Linked DNA regions of Homo sapiens: region 1 is linked to region 2. Evidence: promoter capture Hi-C in 16 types of primary human blood cells and fetal thymus (Javierre and others, 2016). All regions are on one chromosome and are shown on one strand. The core of a region is centred on a gene start or on the middle of the fragment in contact, and the rest is flanking DNA. Distances in the headings are between cores, read along the strand shown.

Region 1 (4,663 bases), core at 1,433-3,932, 660 kb after region 2:
AAAACAAACAACCCCATCAAAAAACGGGCAAAGGATATGAACAGACACTTCTCAAAAGAAGACATTTATGCAGCCAAAAAACACACGAAAAAATGCTCATCATCACTGGCCATCAGAGAAATGCAAATCTAAACCACAATGAGATACTATCTCACACCAGTTAGAATGGCGATCATTAAGAAGTCAGGAAACAACAGGTGCTGGAGAGGATGTGGAGAAATAGGAACACTTTTACACTGTTGGTGGGACTGTAAACTAGTTCAACCATTGTGGAAGACAGTGTGGCGATTCCTCAGGGATCTAGAACTAGAAATACCATTTGACCCAGCCATCCCATTACTGGGTATATACCCAAAGGATTATCAATCATGCTGCTATAAAGACACATGCACACTTATGTTTATAGTGGCACTATTCACAATAGCAAAGACTTGGAACCAACCTAAATGTCCAACAACGACAGACTGGATTAAGAAAATGTGGCACATATACACCATGGAATACTATGCAGCCATAAAAAATGATGAATTCATGTCCTTTTTAGGGACATGGATGAAACTGGAAACCATCATTCTCAGCAAACTATTGCAAGGACAAGAAACCAAACACCGCATGTTCTCGCTTATAGGTGGGAATTGAACAATGAGAACACATGGACACAGGAAGGGGAACATCACACACCAGGGACTGTTAGTGGGGTGGGGGCAGGTGGGAGGGATAGCATTAGGAGATATACCTAACGCTAAATGACGAGCTAATGGGTGCAGCACACCAACATGGCACATGTATACATACGTAACAAACCTGCACGTTATGCACATGTACCCTAAAACTTAAAGTATTATAATAATAAAATTTAAAAAAAAGAATCTAAGAGCCATAAAAGACAGAAGAACATGTCATTCTGGCAGAGGATTCTCTATGTTCCTAGAGGGCTTTGAGGTATAGTGAAGGGAAAAGTTAAAAATACAAAAAGCAAAAGCAGCTCCTTTCATGGGGCTGTTTGTTGTCAGAGCCATAGGTCTTGTTCAAGGAGCTGTGATCACCGCTACTTCATGTTGGTAGCTAGGGCACCCAGATAGAGTACAAGTCTTCAGAATGGTGAGGAGCAACGAATGGCTCTGCCCTGTACAGGTAAGAAAGGTTCTGCCTGGTATAGGTAAGAATGTCCGCCCTGTGGCCAGAACAGGATGCTCTGGAGGAGAGGGGCTTGGTCTTAACTGGGTCAGAGCCAGGTTAGGAAATGGACCAGCAGCCCAGGGGGCCAGTCCACAAGGACCACTACACATCACTGGGATACTTTGGAAATAAGATGTCTATTAACTCAGATTTTTCTTAAACCACAGGTGGAATGCAAATTGGTCCCAATATTGACTAGAAATTATCTTCAGATAGAAGCAAATGGCAGTGTCAGCCAATGCAGACCTACCTCTGGAGAAAATGTTTGCCACTAGCTTTTATAAACTGCAAGATTCAACTATGGAACATGCAAGAATTGCCAACTGACCATCACTTAAAAACAAAATCTGGATAGATAAAATTTTGGAAGTGAGAAATGCATGATATAGTGCTGCTTCCTGGGGGGCCAGTTGTTTTGTTATTTATACTTTGAACCTTTAAAATCTTTTGGCGCAGCATGCTGGCTCATGTCTGTAATCCCAGCACTTTGGGAGGCCAAGACAAGCAAGTAACTTGGTCCCAGAAGCTTGAGACCCACCTGGGCAACATGTGAAACCTTGTCTCTACAGAAAAAACACAAAAATAGTCTGGGTGTGGTGGTACATGCCTATAGTCCCAGCTACTTGGGAGGATGAGGTGGAGGATCATCTGAGCTCCAGAAAGTTGAGGCTGCAGTGAGCTGAGATCTCACCATTGCACTCCAGCCTCGGCAACAGAGTGAGACCCTGTCTCAAAAAACAAACACACAAAACAAAAGAGAGAGAGAGAGAGAGAGAATAAACTTTCTAAGCAGTTGTCTGATTTGTGAAATTGCAAAAAAAAATTTGAAGAGGGGGCACAGAAAAGGAGGAAGTGTTCTTTAGTCAGTGAATAGATGAAAGGAATTTGTATTGAACACACACGTTATTCACTTGAACACATTTGTTCTCTGTCCCCATCGAATACAGGCTGAAGAAATATTTAGAGAATTCTGGCTTGAAAGGGTAAAAAACTAACAACCTGCCCCAGTCAGTCCCCCATGGTTACTGAACTCTGGAAGATTTTGCTGGAGAAGTCTGAGAGTCCAGTTCTACAATTTTACACAATTTGTTAAATGTAAAACATTGCTTTGGCTTCACTTACTGATTTTCCTTTCTCTCCCATTTCTGACTAACTCAAATTTACTGGGTGCCTGCTATATGCCAGGATCCAAATGTTGAACATAACTTATTTTGTTTCATACCCAAGGGGCTGTAAAGGACACACAGACTGTGAGCGCAGACACATTTTAGACTTGCACTGTCCAATACGGTAGCCACTGGCCACATATGGTTATTGAAATTTACATTTATTGTAATTAAGTAAAATTTAAAATTCAATCTCTCAGTTGCACTAGCTATGTATTAAGCACTCAATAGCCACATGTGGTTATGACTATGCTGCTGGACAGCACAGTTATAGAGCATTTCTATCACTGCAGAGAGCACCATTGGATAGCACAGTTTTAGACCTTTCAGAGTTGTCTCTACCTCCTGTGAAATCATTTTAAGCAGAAAAGCTGCCATTCATTGAGCACTCCTCTGGGCCAAGCAAGCAAGATTCTGGGTCAGTTACATAAGATCATCTCACCACAGCTCACTGCCTCACGTCTCAACGCATTTTAATTTTTTTTTTTTTTTTTTTGTAGCGCCGTGGTCTCACTTTGTTGCCCAGGCTAGTATCGAACTCCGGGCTTCGAGCAGTCCTTCTGCCTCAGCCTCCCAAAGTGCTGGGATTACAAGAGTGAGCCATTGGGCCCAGCCTCACCCCATTTTAGAGATGAGGAAACCTGAGGATAGAGAGGCCAAGTAGCTTTCTTACCATCGCACAGCAAGTGAGCGGCAAAGCCCAGGGCGTTTGACTTTAAAGGCTTTGATAATTCTGATGGCCCCACCTTCCAAGGGCATTACCCCCAAGTGTGAGTGAGAGCACCACTGTGGACAAGAAAGAGCCGCTGGGGATCCTGGCCCTTTTGACAGGAAAAGTGGCCATGGGGTCAGACAGGCTAGAGGACCAAGGCTGGTTCTGCCAATGACCATGTCAGTGACATTGCCCAAGCCACTTAGATCTCTGAATATATGTACAGTGGTGGAGCTCACCTTGTAGAGCTATGAGGATTAAATGAGAATATACACATAAGCACTTGGCACAGTATCTGGCACACAGTAGCCATTTAGTACATGGCACACATGAGTATTACTTCCGGAGTGAATCCTTTTCTTCTGTTTAAGCAGCAAACAGCAAGAGTTGCCTTGCTCCCTGCAATACACATTTCTGAGTCTGGCATGCCACCTGCTGGTCACTCCTGGATATACCATCCAGTCCCCTGTTCTCCCCAGAAGGGCCAGTGCCCAGAGTGTTCCCAGGAGACTGGGCTGTAAAACAGGAACATCCTAGCTGAGTATTCAGATTTTTTTTTCGTAAAGTCCCTTTCACATTGTGGCTCCTCTGAGAACTTAGGATAAGCTTAGATCTTGCTAAGTTTGCTGAAATCTTCTTTGTTGCCAGGCAGATAGAGAAGATGGACTTCTTTGGGGCCCTGTGCTCAACGTTAGGCTATGTTGCCAGGGTCTTCTAGCTGCAGGCTATCTAAAAGCACAGGGTCTTTACTATTATGGCTGGCATTCCCTTCGATCTGATGCTGAATATAAGTCCCACCTCTCCACCCCATATCCTATCAATCTAAAAGTCCTGTTGGGTTTTTCTCTGTGAAATATATTTAAAATCTGTCTAAGCCCCTTCATATTCTCTGCCACCATCATCCCTCACCTGGACCACTGCATTAGCCTCCTGATCTTCTTGCATCTCCTCCCTTCCCCCTGTTGTCTATTCTTCACGCAGCAGCTAGAGCTGTGGTCCTACCTGCTGTAGCTATGGAATGCCTTGGGGAACATTCAAGACCTACCAACACCCAGGGGCCAAACCCTGACTAATTAAATCAGAATCTAGGGGTAGTGGGTAGAAGGTCTCTCAACATTCGTAGCTCATGAAAGCTCCTGGATGATTCTTTTTATTTTTATTTTTCGAGACAGAGTCTTGCTCTGTCACCCAGGCTGGAGTGTAGTGGTGCCATCTCGGCTCACTGCAACCTCAACCTCCCAGGTTCTAGCGATTCTCTGGCCTCAGCCTCCCAAGTAGCTGGGACTATGTGTGTGCCACCACACCCAGCTAATTTTTTGTATTTTTAGTAGAGATGGGGTTTCACCATGTTGCTCAGGCTGGTCTCAAACTCCTGACCTCAAGCGATCTACCTGCTTTGGCCTCCCAAAGTTAGATGATTCTTTTGTGCATCCAGGATTGAGAATCACTGAGCTTCCAGTTCAGACCAGCAGTAGCAGCATCTCCTGGAGGGCTTGTTAAAATACAGACCGCTGAGTTCCACTCCCAGAGCCTGTGATTCATCAGGCCAGAAGTGGACCTGCGAATTTCCATGCCTCACAAATTCCCAGGTGACCCTCCTGGGCTG
Region 2 (4,805 bases), core at 1,846-4,345:
TATTGGTGTCTGTGTCCTCCACTAGAATTGTAATTCCTGGGCAAGGATTTTAGTCATTTTCTTCACAACTGAATTCCATTTCCCTGAATAAATATATGAACAAGTTCCCTAAAAACCCTCAGTAAGGCTGTAATCCCAGCACTTTGGGAGGCTGAGGCAGGTGGATCACCTGAGCTCAGGAGTTCCAGACCAGCCTGAGCAACACGGTGAAACCTCGTCTCTACTAAAAATACAAAAAATTAGCTGGGCGTGGTGGCACGTGCCTGTAACCCCAGCTACTCAGGAGGCACAAGAATCGCTTGAACCCAGAAGGTAGAGGTTGCAGTGAGCGTGGTGCCACTGCACTCCAGCCTGGGTGACAGAGTAAGATGCTGTTTAAACAACAACAACAACAACAAACAAACCAAAAAAACCTCAACAACTCCCCATTGCTCTGAAGATCAAGACCAAAACCTTTAATTTGATCTATAGGACTCAAGAGATTTGGTCCTCCCTCCAGCTTATCACACACATCTACCTCTTTGCTCCAGCCACCCTAGCTTTCTTCCACATTTTCTTTTCTTTTCTTTTTTTTTTTTTTTTTTTGTGAGACAGAATCTTGCTCTGTCGCCCAGGCTGGAGTGCAGTGGCGCGATCTCGGCTCACTGCAAGCTCTGCCTCCCGTGTTCACGCCATTCTCCTGCCTCAACCTCCTGAGTAGCTGGGACTACAGGCACCCGTTACCACGCCCGGCTAATTTTTTTGTATTTTTAGTAGAGATGGGGGTTTCACCACGTTAGGCAGGATGTTCTCGATCTCCTGCTCTCGTGATCCACCCACCTCGGCCTCCCAAAGTGCTGGGATTACAGGCGTGAGCCATCGCACCTGACCGCTTTCTTCCACATTTTCAAAGACACTGGGCTTCTTCCACCTCCGGGCTTTGGCACATGCTGTTTCATCTGCCTGGGTCACACAAATTTTCACACGATTGGCTCTTTTCCCCGTTCAGCATTCAGGACCAATGACCTCATTGGACAGGCTTTCCTAACGCTCCATCTAAAGTCACTCCTCATCCTCAGTCACTCTATCCCATCATCCTCTTTTACTTTTTTCATAACATTTACTACCAGCTGAAATTAAAATGTTCATTTCCTTGTTACCTGCATCTCCCACAGCATATTAAGTTATATGAGTTCAGAGATTTTGTGTATGTTGTTCACTGCAGTATCCCTGGTGTCTAGGGTGGTGTCTAGGGTGGTGCCTGGGAACCACTAGGCATTCAAATATTTGTTAAATAACTGAATGACTCAAAGAAGCTTGGGAGGTAGCAGTTATTACTCCTGTTTTACGAACGAGAAAATGAAGGTCCAAAGAGGTTTTCGTTACCCGCCCAAGGACCCATAAGCTTGGAAGGGGTAGATCTAGAATGTAAATCCAGACACAGCTCAAAATTGATGTCTCTCTATACTCTAACTCTTTCCCCACCCCCTTCCCACTCCTTCTAGTTCTGTCATCTGCTTCAGGACTCCTTTGGGAACCTACAAGTTTTGTCACAGATGCCACAGCAGCAAGTGTTTCAGCCTATTACATACACACATACATGCAGACATGCACACACAGAGACATGTACATAGACACCCATGCACAAATAAAAAACAGCTGTCTTTCCTAGCATAAAATTCATCTCATTCATCTAGATAATTGATGAAATACAACAGAATTAAGGCAGGAGTGCCAATAATTGCATGAAAAATATTGCCCTGTTGCTAAAGAAAATATTCATGTATTCATTTATTCAAGCACCTATTATTTATTGTGCTCTGAGGATGCCAACAGATGAGGAAAAACAGACCAGGGAGGAGCATATGTCCATTTGGCCAAGGCATATTAGATATGCTCTACTTCAGCGTTTCTCAAATAAGGGACAGAGGAACATCTGCACCCACTCTCCTAGAATATGGATTCCTGGGTCTCATTCCCTGCTGAAGCGGAATTTCTATTTCACTTGAATTTTGCCATAAAACTATGGCTTGGGCACTATGAGTTGTCCCACTTTAGGGATGAGAAAACAAGCATGGGTGGGTTAAAATGAATTGGCCAAGGTCACATAGCTAAGCTAGAAATGAGAACTCATGCATAATTCCCAAATCCACTCTCTTAGCCCCTTAACATTATACACTTCATTCTAGACCATTTTAAAGCTCTTTTCCCCAGTACTGAAACATACAAGACCCTCACTACTCCAAGTGCAGTCTGGCATCATCAGCGTCACCTGCGGGTTTGTTAGGAGTGCAAATTCTTGGATCCCAGCCCAGATGTACTGTATCGAAATCTGCATCTTAAAAAGACCTCCAGGAAGTTTGTGTGCACTTGAAAGCTTGAGAAGTATGCTCCAGATTATTGATTAATGCAAACACAGAAAGCAGAGTAATTCTTGTAACTCCCAGAACCTTTCTAGAGGAGTTTTTCTTGTTAAGCATCTAGTTATTTGACTGAACAACTCAAACCGCGAGAGGGTAACAGGAATAAATCCTAGTGTCTGCTGCCACCTTGTGGTGAGAAGTTCCATCACAGGCAGAATTCGCTCTTCACCACGAAATAAATGGGGCAATGTTGGAAGGGAGGGGTGGATCAGGTCCTCAATTTAGCAATGTACTTTGAGAGACCACTGCAAAATTCCAAGATGTAATGAAAACCACCCTTGGGGTACATTTTGAGATGTCCAAACAACAACTGGCCTTGTCATATGTGTCCCACAGGACACAGAGAACATTCACCAGCTGTAACTGAGAGATCTAACAGAAGCTCAACTTGTGTTAATCAGCGTATCGTTGGTATTCCTATAGGTCCCTACCACTTCAGAGTTCAAATACGCACTTCTGAATGTGGTGGTCAATTAGTGTGTGGGTGTTTTTTGTTGTTGTTGTTGTTGTTTGATTTTTTTTTTCTATCCAAATGCCAGCATTGAGGCAATCAGATCATCATTTCTGTATTTGCCTTGTTCAAGAATCTGTGAAGTGTTCCACAAAGGTCCATGGAATTTCACACAGCTCTGTCAAATACATCACTGGTGACCTCTGTGAAGTTGTAAACAGGGCCAGTCCCACAAATAATGTCTCTAACACCTGGAAGGGAATAAGGGAAAGACTCTAAAAATTTCCTACATATTTTATTCCGAATAGCCCACACCTTGACAGTACATTCAGTCACTGGATGATTTTGTATTGAAGTCTGTAAGTTCAAGAACTAAAACAATCCAAAACGGCTACTACAGGTGAAGTTGAGAGCAATGGCCCAACCTCAGCTGTATCTACCAGAACCCTTTAAGATTGCCTACAGAAAAGTTGGACAGTGCCGAAGATTCCAGCAACTCAAGAAGAAAAATGGCTCATTCAAAAGGAAGGGGATAGAAAGGTAACAGAGATTCATTTCCTTTTCTGTCAAATGAGAGTCTTTGGGTTTGGCATAGTGGCATGTCCTTTTAAGCATTGCATTTAGGAATGAGGACTCTGGATGGATTGGCGGGGAGGGTACTGCGTTGGATCAAGAAATCTAGTGTGACAATGTAAGCTTCATTTTATGATCAGAAACATCTTAATTGTAACAGGGAAAACCTTTCCTTTCCACTCGAAATTAAGTTTCAATGTGGCATAGGAGACTAAAATAAGTTCTGATCCTATGTTGATATTTCAGCATCAGAATTTTGGACATCTCACATCCCGTGAAAATACTATTATTTTGAAAAGTCATTAGTGCATTCTTCGAAATAGGTCCACGATCAGTGCTTTCTTTCTCCTATCCCAGCAATTTGGGCTGCTGAAATATGTACTAATCACATTTCACTATGGACACATTGTTTAATGTAACGTTAAAACTGCCTTAGACTTGCTATTTTTTTGCCAATGACAAAACCATATAGACAGGTATGAAACATCCAAAATATAATATATTTTAATTTGGAAAGTCAGTGTGGTGATTTATTTTCCAATTTCTTTGGGCTTCTCTCTTACCAGGTCCATGGGCTATAGTTCAGACATGTAGAAGTGAGGTGTTTTAATGAGTCCTGGAAGCATCAAAGACCAAGCTTGTGAACTTCCATGGACAAAATAAAATACTGCAGAGATTTCCACTTTCAATGAAAAGTAGGCACTCCGGGGGAAGCAATACAACCAAATAAATTCAGTACCAACACAAAAATATTTAAAAACTTAAGAAGGGGAGGGTTCTGCTCATATCAGAAATTGCAGCAGTGTGTTCCTAGGCTCTGGAGCTAAATCACCTTTGTTAATTATGTTCTAGATAGATTGGGGATGAGAGTGGGGAGGATGGGAATGGGAAACACCTTCTAGAGATTCTGAGACCACTTAGAACTGGGCTTTTAACATGGGTGGTCTTCAAAATTCCTGAATCTCCTGAAACTGTATTTGCATTGTTCTGTGTCACAGTATGTGTATGTGTGTACATGTTTATAGTAGTAGAATCACTTAAAAATTAAATTATTATTAAAGGAGTCTCAGAGGGGTCTACGGGAGATTAATCCTACCCATAAGTTATCTCTGGGTGAATTAGGAAATGGTGCTCCCTCCTCAGGACATTTTACTGCCATCTGCCAGAAAATCATTATAATAACTATACACAAGTCTAAGGATGAAATTGAATAGCACCCCCTAGAAGTCATATATGTACATTTTGCAGAACCCTGCCCTTGGTCCCAGAAGGGAGGCTGCTAGCTTCTCCCTTATTTTGCCCTCTAGTGTGGGCTCCCTGCTTGCCTTTTAAGTTAATGGATTTTCCCCATAAGTTAATGGCTTTTCCCCACTGTTCTG

The links. The method cuts DNA at HindIII sites, captures the fragments that hold promoters and counts their contacts. A CHiCAGO score of 5 or more calls a contact.
Region 1: a contact is called between a fragment that was not itself captured here and the fragment with the promoter of C3orf49 in region 2, in 2 of 17 cell types (megakaryocytes and endothelial precursors). The highest score is 6.4, in megakaryocytes.

What each region holds. Positions count from the first base shown.
Region 1 is chr3:64,481,105-64,485,767 of GRCh38, forward strand. All of the region lies in intron 3 of LOC105377123 (a long non-coding RNA gene), which reads right to left. Among named protein-coding and RNA genes, the nearest start is that of PRICKLE2-DT, 38 kb to the left of the region's middle. The HindIII fragment of the contact is 1,958 bases long and covers 1,704-3,661 here.
Region 2 is chr3:63,816,204-63,821,008 of GRCh38, forward strand. It overlaps C3orf49 (chromosome 3 open reading frame 49), which reads left to right and starts at 3,096. Exons shown (of 7, transcript NM_001355236.2): 1 at 3,096-3,393. The coding sequence starts at 3,269. RefSeq lists a silencer at 2,443-2,562. The HindIII fragment of the contact is 1,193 bases long and covers 2,355-3,547 here.